4 separate regions of the Homo sapiens genome follow, and regions 1, 3 and 4 are each linked to region 2. Evidence: promoter capture Hi-C in human tissues and cell types (Jung and others, 2019). All regions are on one chromosome and are shown on one strand. The core of a region is centred on a gene start or on the middle of the fragment in contact, and the rest is flanking DNA. Distances in the headings are between cores, read along the strand shown. Region 1 overlaps KDM1A (lysine demethylase 1A). Region 2 holds the start of C1QB (complement C1q B chain). Region 3 has its middle 5.9 kb from the start of LACTBL1. Region 4 has its middle 34 kb from the start of LACTBL1.

Evidence for each region. Contacts are between HindIII fragments. The study calls those that stand out against the background at their distance.
Region 1: a fragment that was not itself captured here is called in contact with the fragment with the promoter of C1QB in region 2 in 1 of the 25 tissues and cell types used here (adrenal gland).
Region 3: a fragment that was not itself captured here is called in contact with the fragment with the promoter of C1QB in region 2 in 1 of the 25 tissues and cell types used here (liver).
Region 4: a fragment that was not itself captured here is called in contact with the fragment with the promoter of C1QB in region 2 in 3 of the 25 tissues and cell types used here (bladder, liver and mesenchymal stem cells).

Annotation. Positions count from the first base shown.
Region 1 is chr1:23,038,756-23,042,122 of GRCh38, reverse strand. The region is part of intron 2 of KDM1A (lysine demethylase 1A); the gene reads right to left. Among named protein-coding and RNA genes, the nearest start is that of MIR3115, 3.9 kb to the left of the region's middle. The HindIII fragment of the contact is 3,708 bases long and covers 1-3,367 here.
Region 2 is chr1:22,651,119-22,654,580 of GRCh38, reverse strand. C1QB (complement C1q B chain) reads right to left here and starts at 1,345. Exons shown (of 3, transcript NM_001378156.1): 1 at 1,278-1,345. The HindIII fragment of the contact is 7,433 bases long and covers 1-3,462 here.
Region 3 is chr1:22,977,133-22,980,386 of GRCh38, reverse strand. No RefSeq gene overlaps it. Among named protein-coding and RNA genes, the nearest start is that of LACTBL1, 5.9 kb to the right of the region's middle. The HindIII fragment of the contact is 8,506 bases long and covers 1-3,254 here.
Region 4 is chr1:22,937,024-22,940,275 of GRCh38, reverse strand. No RefSeq gene overlaps it. Among named protein-coding and RNA genes, the nearest start is that of LACTBL1, 34 kb to the left of the region's middle. The HindIII fragment of the contact is 7,465 bases long and covers 1-3,252 here.

The sequences.
Region 1 (3,367 bases), core at 562-3,061, 390 kb before region 2:
AGCCTGAATTACTTTATCTTTCCTATTCCTCTCATTTCCCTTCTTTTCCAACTATAATACATGTCATACAATAAACTCACTAATTTAAGCTACAGGTAGCTCTTGACTGATTTTTGTGTGTGAATCAATGGTGCTTTGATTCACAAAAAAAGATGGATTTCTTACCCCTGACTTGCGTACTCAATAGGTTAACCAGGACAAAAGGGCAACGAGGCAGTCTTTTTTGTCTTCTGGTTTTGAAGAAAGGAATTAAAAAACCTCTTAAAAAGATTTTTTTTAATTTAAAAAAATGCAGGAAAATGTAGAAAATATTCAATACCCTGCAAAGATTTTTAAAAGGGATCCCATAACAACAAAATGTCAAAAAAGAAATGAAACTCCAGGCTGGGCACAGTGGCTCACGCCTGTAATCCCAGCACTTTGGGAGGCCGAGGTGGGCGGATCACGAGGTCAGGAGTTCAAGACCAGCCTGACCAACATGGTGAAACGCTGTCTCTACTAAAAATACAAAAATTAGCCAGGCGCTATGGTATGCACCTGTAATCCCAGCTACTCAGGAGGCTGAGGCAGGAGAATCGCTTGAACTCGGGAGGTGGAGGTTGCAGTGAGCCGAGATTGCACCACTGCACTCCAGCCTGGGCAACACAGCAAGACTCGGTCTCCAAAAAAAAAAAAAAAAAAAAAAAAGCAAGAAAAGAAACTCAAAAGTATTATTTAAGCAGAGGAGTAGAAAGAAACCAAGCAGAAGGTACCACATAAGAAATGATGGAAAACAAAATTTAAAAGTGCTTAAAATTAAATTAAGAAACAAGTTATTTATCTCTTGATAATGGTTTAACTTGCTTGGAAATAAAGAATGAAGTTATTATTTTCACTCCAATCATACTTGAGAGTATTTTGAAGATGCCTACTTCTCCAAAGACAACTGAAAGATCATCTTTACTAGCAGTATATTATAGACCAATTCTTGAACATTTTCTTAAAAACAGCACATACACAACACTGCTTGCAGCTAACTTTTCATCCAAGTAGTCTCTGATTATGATATATATAAAATCCCTTATTCATCTGCTCTTTGGGTCTTTCCAGCCTAGGACTCTGTTTCTGATAGTGGCTCAGGACACATTAACAGCAGGCAAGTAGCGCTGTTAGCTTTCCATGAGTGCAAATTCAAAACAGAAAATGAAAATATTCAAAAGCAACTTTGTAATATCACCTTGATTTTGGCACCACTACACAAGAAACTCCCTTTTGTTTTTATCCCAAACCACCAAACCTACAAAATAGTCCTCAAGCTTGAAGCAGAGACTCTTTTTAATTTTTTAATTATTTTTAGAGACAAGGTCTTGCTCTGTCGCCCAGGGTGGAGTACAGTGGTGCAATCACAGTTCACTGTAACCTTGAACTCCTGAGCTCAAGGGATCCTCTTGCCTCAGCCTCCTGAGTAGCTAGGACTACAGGCATGTACCACCATACCTGGCTAATTTTTTTTTTTTTTTTGTAGAGACGAGTTCTCGATATGTTGCCCAGGCTGTTTTTGAACTCCTAGCCTCCCACTTCAGCCTCTCAAAGCAACAGGATTATGAGCGTGAGCCACCACAATCGGCCTAAAGTAGAGACTCTTCATACAGCTTATTTGTACACAGCTACTCCAAATTGAAAATGAAGATCTTTTTGATTTATCTTACATAACAGCCTTTCAGTTGTCTTCTAGACCTTCAGATCTAAGAGTCCTTCTTGAAGCGTGAAGTGTTGTAGTTATAATCACATTACTGAATGTTTTCTCATCTGAATTCAAATACTCAAGAGATCACTCTTCCAACATCTTAAAAGGAAGTCTATGTTGACTTTCAAATGCTTTTATCTGGCAAACAAACAAGGAGGTGAAAATCACTGGTTGGTTGTTTCCAGAAACACAGATTCACATTTTGACTAGTTTCTTGGAATCACATTCAAATTACAAACATTTTAAGAAACTTCTAAATCTAGGAAGCAACGATTTTCCAATAGAAGATAAATTTACCAAAATGGCCAAATTTATGGAATAAAAGTGAAGGCCAACCTACTGATTTCAATTGAATTTAATAAATTAGCAGGTGAAAGAAACATTTCAAAAGTTAAAGCCAACTTGGAATATATGTCTCTACCGTATTAACGCACTAATTGAGTTTCTTATTTAATAATCAGTGTTTACCGTATCTGCCCCAAAACTGCAAAGCACAAATACAAAAGTAGAACAGGTAGACTCTCTGTTTTCAAAAAGCTTATAATCTAGTTGAGAAAAGATGAAAAATACCTACAAGGAAACTTTTGTTGTTAAGAAACGAGAAGCTGACACAGTCTTGGAGAATCAGGGAAGCTTTCAGAACAATTCCCGAGAGATCTGGATAGACTGCGAGGCAGTGAAACCACGACTATGGTCCAGATCATTTACAAAGATAAAGAGAAAAGCACAGACATGGTATGTGCAGAGGACTGCTCGGTACCTACTTTCAGAAGGAGATGGTCTGAAAAAGCAGTGGGAGATCAAGTGGATTGGTAAAATGATCCCTTTCCAGTACCCAAACCTGAACGTGATTTTAGTAGTAATGAAGGAAAAGTGTGTGATCTTTGGCACAAAGACAACAAAACAAATGCTATTTTAGTTAAACTAATCTGGCCACTTTGTACGAGATGGATTAGAGGGAAAACCTAGATAAAGGAGATCCAATTCAAAGGCTATTGAAATAATTTACATACAAGTTGAAATTCACTAGAAAAAGGTGACAGTAAAAATGGGTAAGGCCTAAAAAATGAAAAAGACTGCACAGTAAGATGCATGACTTTACAACAGACTTGGTAAAAGGGATAAAGAACTTTCAGGATGACTCTAGGGTTTTAAGTTCAGAAGACTAGTAATGCTACAAACAAAATGGGAAATTTGGGAGACTGGCTAATACAATTAAATGGAAATGTTCTAAAGATGGTTGGAAATTAAACAATAGAACTCAGAAGTAAGAATGGGGCTAAAAGACTTCAAAATAGCATGGAAGTAATAATAGGCTCAGATAATTTGAAGCAGTCATAAATGCATGATTAATCTCATGAACATAAGGAAAGTCACAGTTTCAAAAAGGAATTGACAGTGGCTCACACCTGTAATCCCAGCACTTTGGGAGAGACCAAGTCAGGAGGATCACTTACAACAAGGAGTTCAAGACCAGCCTGAGCAACAGTCAAAATGAAATTATGAGTTCCAACTAGAATAGCAATCCCTGGGTTACAGTATCATGTAAAATACTGAAGTAAAACAGCCTTCTTAAGGTTTAGAAAAAAAGAAAAATTGTTTTGCTTGAAGCAGGAGCTTGCCTGGAACTTCCACTGAACT
Region 2 (3,462 bases), core at 96-2,595:
GCCTGGCATGTTGGAAATTCTTAATGAATATTAGCTATTTTATTATTATCACTGTCATCCAAGAATTCCTGAGTGGTTGAACAGAAGGGAAGATGGTTGGAGAAGTAAAAAAAGACAATCCCTTTGAAAGACTGTGTTTAGAGGGAGGGGCTCTGTCAGTTGGAGGCAGCAAGGGGTGGAGAGCTGTGACCAGTTGGTGGGGAGAGAGGGTGGGGAGCAGGGTACTGACAGGACTTGGGCTTCCTGGGGAAGCCAGGGGCAGGGGGAGTGGGAAAGTGCTGGTTCTAGCCCATTTCAAAAGCCACCGAGTTTCAGCCTTGGGTTAGGGCTTACAACTCATCTGGTTTAACTGCCTCCTGCCTGTGCCAGCCCATCATCATTGCCAGCGCGGTTTCTCCTGTCCTCCCCCCAGGCTCTGACCTTTCCATCTCCTTCGGTCCAGCAGTCCCTTTCCGCAACATGGAGTCAGGCCCACTTGACTTTAAAGCCCCATCTGCTACCGGCTGCATAACCTCAGGCAAGTGCCTTAACCTCTCTGAGCCTCTTGGCAATGCTGATTTCAACCTGACAGGGCTGCCAGAAGGATGACAGGAGAAGGCGCTTAGAAGAAATAAGGTCCCCCCTGCCCCGTGCAGTGCCACATCCCACTCCCCAGCTGCACAAACATTGCGCTCACTCAGTACTAGCTGAGAACTCATCGTAACTCTACCTGCACATCCCCTTATTTCTTTGGAAGAGTCAAGCTGAGCTTTCTCAGCGAGTATGAGGAAATAAGCAAGGTGTTGGGGAAATGCTGGGCCGGGCAGGAGCGACTGGCTTATAATCCCACTCCTGCCTCTGGTTTACTGATAAATTTTGAGCCAGGGCATGCACTAAGCTTTTGCAAGCTTGATCTCCTGTAAGGCACAGCAGTGCTGAAAGATTCTGTTCTCTGTAGGGGGGCCGGGCTGAGAGAGGTTAGGTGACTTGCCCAAGATAACCAATACATAAGGTGCAGAGCCAGACTCAGCTCAAGTCTCTGCGATGCCAAAGCTCCTATGTGCCAGGCTCCCGCTTTAGGTGGCCTGCCCATCCGCTAGGCCCTGGGTAGCAGCAGACTCCCCAACTCACCCCAGAGATCTGGGTCCCATAGGTCTGGGATTGGGCCCAGCTACCTGCACTGTTAAACAGCCTAACTGGCTCCGAGGCAGGTGACGCAAAGCTCACACTTACGGAATCACCACTTTCTGCCATATTGGCCCTGCCAGCCTCCCCCAGGCGCCAAGCCCCGTCCTCACCTGGGAAGCTGGTGTCCTGTGAGGCCACTGGGCTGAGCAGCAGTGGGACCAGGAGCCGAGAGCCTACTGCCCTCGGTCCGAAGCGGAAGTTCCCTTCCCCAGAGGCGGGAAGGGCTTTCCCCTGACGGTCCCCTCCCATGGACCAGCAGGCTGGCCCCTTTCCCGTCCCCTCACTGTCCCCCCACCCTGCTGCCCTCAGGCAGTTTCAGGTCCTATTTCTGCAACCCACTGGATTTACTGTAAATGAGACGGGTGGGTGGCAAGTTTGGTTCTGCCAACTCAGCAGCTGTGGGGAGAACACGCTGTCCTGGGGGAACATCCACAGCTCACCCTCCCAGGCTCTCTGACCTCGTGATCTTCTTCTACACTGGGCAGGGGTGTTCCTCAGTGAGCATCATGTGGCGGGCCCGCTGCCTGAGTGCTGGCTTACAGTCAGAGCCTTTGATTCCAATCCCGCCTCTGCCACTTGCCAGTTGATGTGTTGTCAGTCAAGGGAGCCCCAATTTTCTCTGCTATAGGATGGGACCATAATTGTACCTGCTCTACAGATACAGATCTCACAGGCCACTGGGAGGATAATGGAGGAAATGATGGGGGAGGAAGTGTCTGGGGGTAAACTGTAAAGGGCTGTGCACGTGTTCATTGTTAATATCACTTCATGTCCCAGGCTTCCCCTTTCTGGGCTCATCTCTTCTGCTTCCTTCCCATTCTGTGCCCCTGCTCTTTCCCTGTTCTCAGAAAATAATCTCATAATGAATTTTAAATGTGTTCATTATTTATTGATACCCCTCCCTCTGCTTCCAGCAGGGCTGGACGCTGATGACAATAATAGGCCCAGGCAGGGGCCTGTTGCTTCTTCTCGATCCTGGAATCACGCCAAGTTAGGGCCGGAGAGGGGCTGAGGTTACTCGGCCCATCCTCCTCATTTTATATACGAGGAAACTGAGGCCCAGAGGGGAGACCCACCATTTAACAAATATTTAGTGTTTGCTTCCATGTGCACTGAAGAGAGAGCTCTTAGCAAATCAGCCATGGTCCCTGCCCCCATGGGGCCTCCCTTCTACGGGGGGAGACTGGTGTTAAACACGGAATGACATGAGGCTTCATTGCTTCTGTGATAAATGTCACAGAAAGACGTGACTGCTGGGGCCGATGCCTCATGGAGGTGGCAGATGCAGACCTGGAAGCCGGCATCCCTGGCACTAGGATATCAGTCTCTCCCTGTGGCTGCGTCTCAGACGACATGATGACTAGCAAGCACCAGGAGCTGGAGGCCCTCTTGACATCTGTGCTTGGAGATGGAAATTCACTGGGCTTGTGGATGCAGCTTGGTGGAAATTAAGTGTTAACTGCAATGGGTGAACAGGAGGGAAAGATAAGTTTGATAAAACCAAAAGGTCTCTGAGCTCAGTCAACTATAGTCCCGAAGGGACCCAGGCTAGGGTGAAGAGAAGAAACACTGGATTCCACAAAGGGAGAAACGAGTTAGTAGGTTGCAAGTTGAGGGCTTCTGAGCATTCCCAAAGCCGAGTGGCTCTGGGCCTCTAGTTCTTTTTTTTTTTTTTTTTCTTGAGATGGAGTCTCAGTCTGTTGCTCAGGCTGGAGTGCAGTGGTGCGACCTCAGCTCACTAGAACCTCTTCCTCCCAAGTTCAAGCGATTCTCCTGCCTCAGCCTCCCAGGTAGCTGGGACTACAGGTGCATGCCACCAAGCCCAGCTAATTTTTGTATTTTTTTTTAGTAGATACAGGGTTTCACCATGTTGGCCAGGCCGGTCTCAAACTCCTGACCTCAAGTTGATCTGCCTGCCTCGGCCTCCCAAAGTGCTGGGATTACAGGCGTGAGCCACCATGCCCAGCCTCTGGGCCTCTAATTCTTAGGTGGCTAAGGGCAATGGGAAAAGATGGATGTCAATTTGGGGTAGAAGCAGTGAGGCTAAGAACAGGAAGCAGCAGAGGTGGGTTAGGAGCACGGACTTTGGCAGTTTGAATCCCAGCTCTTCGTCTTGCTAACTATGTGGCCACGGGAATGTTTACTGGCCTCAGTTTCCTCGTGTAGAAATGGGAAGCATGAACGCCTATCTCCTGGGGCTGTTTTGGGGGCCAGCGAGGTCCCCCTGCCATGTCCAGGGCCAGGTGAGTGCCCAGCCCTTGGTGGGCACCCACTGCAAACATGGGAACGGTATTA
Region 3 (3,254 bases), core at 501-3,000, 330 kb before region 2:
GCCTGGGCAACAGAGCAAGACTCCATCTCAAAATAAATAAATAAATAAATAAATAAATAAATAAATAAATAAATAAGTAATAAAACAAAAAGTGTCAGCTGGGCGTGGTGGCTCATGCCTGTAATCCTAGCACTTTGGAAGGCCAAGGTGGGACAATGGCTTGAGCCCAGGAGTTTGAGACCAGACTGGTCAACATAGCAAGACTCCATCTCTACAAATAATCAAACAATTAGCCAGGCAAAGTGGTGCACACCAGTAGTCTCAGTTGCCCAGAAGACTGAGGTGGGAGGATCACTTGAGCCCAGGAGGTTGAAGTTGCAGTGAGCTGTGATTGCGCCATTGCCTCGGTGACAAAGCAAGACCCTGTCTCAAAAAAAAAAAAAAAAAAAAGGAAACAAAATAAATAAAAATATGAGTCATGGCCGGGTGCCTGTAATCCCAGTGTTTTGGGAGGCCGAGGTGGGAGGATCCCTTGAACCCAGGTGTTTGAGGCTGCAGTGAGCTATGATCATACCACTACACTCCAGCCTGGGCAACAGAGTAAGACCCTGCCTTAAAAAAAATGTGAGTCAGATTGTGCTACTCCTCTGCTTTCAAACTCTGCAAAGGCTCCCACTTCACTCAGAGGGGAGCCAAAGTCCTTCCTGTGGCCTAGAAGGTTCTATGTGACCATCCTGACCTCTTACTTCCCTACCTCACCTACTACTTTGCCCTTTGCTTAGTCTGCTCCAGCCACTGGCTTCCTTGCTATTCTTTTAACACACCAGGCACATTCCACCCTAAGGCCTGAGCACTGGCTGTTCCCTCTACTGTGAACACTATTCCTCTGTTGTCCATATAGCTAACTCTCTTATTTCCCTTAGGTGATTTGCTAAATGCTTCTTTCTCAATGAGGCCCATTCTGATCTCCCAATTTAATACTCTAATCTACCCCTCTTACCCAGCTCTATTTATTTTACCATGACATATATTATTTTATTTTTAATTTATTTTTATTTTTGGAAACAGGTTTTCTTCTGCTACCCTGGCTGGATTGCAGTGGCGTGCTCATGGTTCACTGAAGCCTTGACCTCCTAGGCTCAAGTGATCCTCACTCATTAGCTTCCTTGAGTAGCTGGGACTACAGGCATGCGCCACCACGCCTGGCTAATTTTGTTGTTTCTTTTTTTTGTTTGTTTTGTTTTTTTTGTTTTTGTTTTTTGAGACAGAGTCTCGCTCTGTCACCCAGGCTGGAGTGCAGCGGTGTGATCTCGGCTCACTGCAAGCTCTGCCTCCCGGGTTCACGCCATTCTCCTGCCTCAGCCTCCCGAGTAGCTGGGACTACAGGCGCCCGCCACCATGCCCAGCTAATTTTTTTGTATTTTTTTTTTAGTAGAGATGGGGTTTCACCGTGTTAGCCAGGATGGTCTTGATCTCCTGACCTCACGATCTGCCTGCCTTGGCCTCCTAAAGTGCTGGGATTACAGGCGTAAGCCACTGCACCCGGCCAATTTTGTTTTTTTAAAAAAATGTTGTATAGAGACAGAGTCTCCCCTGTGTTGCCTAGGCTGGTCTGGAGCTCATGGCCTCAAGTGATCCACCTGCTTCAGCCTCTCAAAGTATTGAGATTACAGGCGTGAGCCACTGTGCCTGGTCATGTATCACTTTGTAATGCAGCATTTAACTTATTTATCCTGTTGCCCCTGCTAGAAGATGGGCTCTACCAGGTCAGGGACCTTTGTGTTGTTCACTGATATATCTGAAGCACCAAGAACAGTGCCTAGCGCTGAGTAGGTGCTCAATAAAAATGCACTGACAATGAATATCTGTTACTATATCTGCTTTGCCCCACACCCAAGTGTAAGACCCAGGGAATGGCAGATGTTCAGTAAATGTCTGTTGCATGACTCAGTGGGTAAGTGAGTGAATGGATGAATCAATGAATCAATCAAAGCCTGACTGCTGAAAATGCTAAGTATCTTCATATATCCTTTAGGAGGAACATTTTCCTTTGTAAAGTTTTTTTTTTTTTTTTGAGATGGAGTATGTCTCTGTTGCCCAGGCTGGAGTGCAGTGGCGCAATCTTGGCTCGCTGCAACCTCTGCCTCCTGGGTTCAAGAGATTCTCCTGCCTCAGCCTCCTGAGTAGCTGGGACTACAGGCGCATGCCACTACACCTGGCTAATTTTTTATATTTTTAGTAGAGATGAGGTTTCACTGTGTTAGCCAGGATGGTCTCCATCTCCTGACCTCATGATCCCACCCACCTCGGCCTCCCAAAGTGCTGGGATTACAGGCATGAGCTACCACATCTGGCCCTTTTTAAAGTTTAATTTGCCTTTGATTTGATATCTTTTCAACCTCTTTCTTCCTTCCTTTCTCTTTCTTTTTCTTTCTTCCTTCCTTTCTTTCTTTCTTTCTTTCTTTCTTTCTTTCTTTCTTTCTTTCTTTCTTTCATCTTTCTTTCTCTTTTTCTTTCCTTCCTTCCTTCCTTCTTTCCTTCTTTCTTTCTTTTCTTTCTCTCCTTCCCTCTTTCTCTCTTTATTTCTCTTGCTCTGTCACCCAGGATGGAGTGAAGTGGTGTGATCTCGGCTTGCTGCAACTTCTGCCTCTCGAGTTCAAGGGATTCTTGTGCCTCAGCCTCCCAAGTAGCTGGGACTACAGGCACCCGCCACCATGCCAGGCTAATTTTTGTATTTTTAGTAGAGATGGGGTTTTGCCATGTTGGCCAGGCTGGTCTCGAACTCCTGACCTCAAGAGATCTGCCCACCTCTGGCTCCCAAAGTGCTGGGATTACAGGCTTGAGCCACTGTGCCTGGCCCACATTCTTCTTCCTTCCTTCCTTCCTTCCTTGCTTCCTTCCTTCTTTCCTTCCTTCCTTCCTTCCTTTTTTTTTTTTTCTCTCTCTTTCTCTCTTTCTTTCTTTCAACAGAGTCTTGCTGTCACCCAGCCTGGAGGGCAATGACGTGATCTCGGTTCACTGCAACCTCTGCCTTCTGGGTTCGCGATTTTCCAGCCTTAGCCTCCCAAGTAGCTGGGACTACAGGTGCCCACCACCACGCCTGGCTAATTTTTGTATTTTTAGTAGAGATGGGGTTTCGCCATATTGGCCAGGCTGGTCTCAAACTCCTGACCTCCAGTGATCCGCCTGCCTTGGCCTCCCAAAGTGCTGGGATTATAGGCATGAGCCATCATGCCCGGCCCACATTCTTCTTTCTTAAAGGTCCTGATGCAGAGGGTGAGGACAATTAGTTTCTCCCAGGAGGAGAGGCCAAT
Region 4 (3,252 bases), core at 422-2,921, 290 kb before region 2:
GTGAGACCCTGTGTCTAGAAAATTAAAAAAAAATTTAGCTGGGTGTGGTGATGCACACCTGTGGTCCCAGCTATTAGGAAGTCTAAGGTGGGAGGACTGCTTCCTCTTTTCTGATGTAAGCATTTATTGCTATCAATTTCCCTCTTACCACTGCTTTAGCTATGCCCCACATGTGTTAATATGGAGTATTCTTATTCTCATTAAAGTAAATATATTGTTAAATTTCTTTTGAGATCTATTCTTTGACCACATGAATTATTTATAAGTGTATAGCTTTGTTTCAAAGGGTTCAGAGATTTTCATGTTATCTCTATACTGTTGATTTCTAGTTTGATTCCACTGTGGTCAGAGAACACATTTTGTATGATTTCAGTTGTTTTTTTAGTTTGTTGAGGTTTGTTTTGTGGCTCAGGGTGTGGTCTATCTTGGTATATATTTCATTGGTGCTTGAAAACAATGTGTGTTCTGCTATTGTTGGGTGGATTGTTGGATGCCGATTAGATCCTGTTGGTTGTAGGTATTGAATTCTGTATCCTTCATGATTTTCCATCTGTTGTTCTATGAATTGTTAAGAGGGAAATGATATCGTGAAAATGGTGATACTACCCAAGGTAATTTATAGATTCAATGCCATCCCCATCAAGCTACCAATGACTTTCTTCACAGACTTGGAAAAAACTACTTTAAAGTTCATATGGAACCAAAAAAGAGCCCGCATTGCCAAGTCAATCCTAAGCCAAAAGAACAAAGCTGGAGGCATCACGCTACCTGACTTCAAACTATACTACAAGGCTACAGTAACCAAAACAGCATGGTACTGGTACCAAAACAGAGATATAGACCAATGGAACAGAACAGAGCCCTCAGAATTAATGCCGCATATCTACAACTATCTGATCTTTGACAAACCTGACAAAAACAAGCAATGGGGAAAGGATTCTCTATTTAATAAATGGTGCTGGGAAAACTGGCTAGCCATATGTAGAAAGCTGAAACTGGATCCCTTCCTTACACCTTATACAAAAATTAATTCAAGATGGATTAAAGAGTTACATGTTAGACCTAAAACCATAAAATCCCTAGAAGAAAACCTAGGCAATACCATTCAGGACATAGGCATGGGCAAGGACTTCATGTCTAAAACACCAAAAGCAATGGCAACAAAAGCCAAAATTGACAAATGGGATCTAATTAAACTAAAGAGCTTCTGCACAGCAAAAGAAACCACCATCAGAGTGAACAGGCAACCTACAGAATGGGAGAAAATTTTTGCAACCTACTCATCTGACAAAGGACTAATATCCAGAATCTACAATGAACTGAAACAAATTTACAAGAAAAAAACAAACAACCCCATCAAAAAGTGGGCGAAGGATATGAACAGACACTTCTCAAAAGAAGCCATTTATGCAGCCAAAAAACACATGAAAAAATGCTCATCATCACTGGCCATCAGAGAAATGCAAATCAAAACCACAGTGAGATACCATCTCAAACCAGTTAGAATGGCGATCATTAAAAAGTCAGGAAACAACAGGTGCTGGAGAGGATGTGGAGAAATAGGAACACTTTTACACTGTTGGTGGGACTGTAAACTAGTTCAACCATTGTGGAAGTCGGTGTGGCGATTCCTCAGGGATCTAGAACTAGAAATGCCATTTGACCCAGCAATCCCATTACTGAGTATATACCCAAAGGATTATAAATCTGGCTGCTATAAAGACACATGCACACATATGTTTATTGCGGCACTATTCACAATAGCAAAGACTTGGAACCAACCCAAATGTCCAACAATGATAGACTGGATTAAGAAAATGTGGCACATATACACCATGGAATACTATGCAGCCATAAAAAATGATGAGTTCATGTCCTTTGTAGGGACATGGATGAAGCTGGAAACTATCATTCTCAGCAAACTATCGCAAGGACAAAAAACCAAACACCGCCTTGTCTCACTCATAGGTGGGAATTGAACAATGAGAACACATGGACACAGGAAGGGGAACATCACACACTGGGGACTGTTGTGGGGTGGGGGAAGGGGGAGGGATAGCATTAGGAGATATACCTAATGCTAAATGATGAGTTAATGGGTGCAGCACACCAACATGGCACACATGTATACATATGTAACAAACCTGCACGTTGTGCACATGTACCCTAAAACTTAAAGTATAATAAGAAAAAATAAAATAATTAATATGAATAATAATGCAATGAATGAATTACAATAACAACATTCAACTAGTTGATAATTAATAATGCAATTACTGTTTGTTTTAAGTCACTAAGTATTGAAGTTCTTTATTACACGACAAGAGAAAACTGGAACAGTTATGAGGTACCCAACCAAAATTGAGTCATGAACAGCACTGATGTAAACTGCACTGAGCCTTTGCGTTTATGAGTGTGGAGCAGGATAATATATCAAGAATTAGGCCAGGCATAATGGCACATGTCTGTAATCCCAGCACTTTGAGAGGCCAAGGTCCAGGAGTTTGAGACTAGCCTAGGCCATATAGTGAGACCTTGTGTCTAGAAAATTTTTTTAAAAAATTAGCTGGGTGTGGTGATGCACACCTGTGGTCCCAGCTATTAGGGAGGCTAAGGTAGGGGGATTACTTGAGCCTGGAAGATTAAGGCTGCAGTGAGCATTGATCTCACCACGACACTCCAGCCTGGGCAACAGAAGGAGACCCTGTCTCAAAAAGAAAAAAAGTTAATTTGTGTTTGTTCTCACTATATTTTTTTCTTTTTGAAAATTATTTTATTTTGTTTTTATGTTTTTGAGACAGGATATCGCTTTGTTTTGTTTTTATTTTTTTGAGACAGGCACGATTATGGCTCACTGCAGCCTCAAGCTGCTGGGCTCAAGCAATCCTACCCTAGTCTCCCATGTAGCTGGCATCACAGGCTCATGCCATGCTTGGCTAATTTAGAAAATTTTTTTTTGTTGAGACAAAGTGTCACTTTGTTGCCTAAGCTGGTCTCGAACTCCTGGGCTTAAGCAGTCCTCCTGCCTTGGCCTCCCAGAGTGCTGGGATCACAGGTGTGAGCCACTGCGCCAGGCCATCTTTCTCTTTTTTAAAGGAAACTGCCAGGGCTTTAGTATTTTTTCTTCTCACTCTGGGAATCTTGCTGGGTGGAAGAGAAGCTACTTACAGGCAGTTGCTCTACTCTTTTGGTCAGAGCCTAAACTTGCAAAAAGAGCTCTGCAAGGTAGGCAGGGAGGGGAGCACCTTTGGA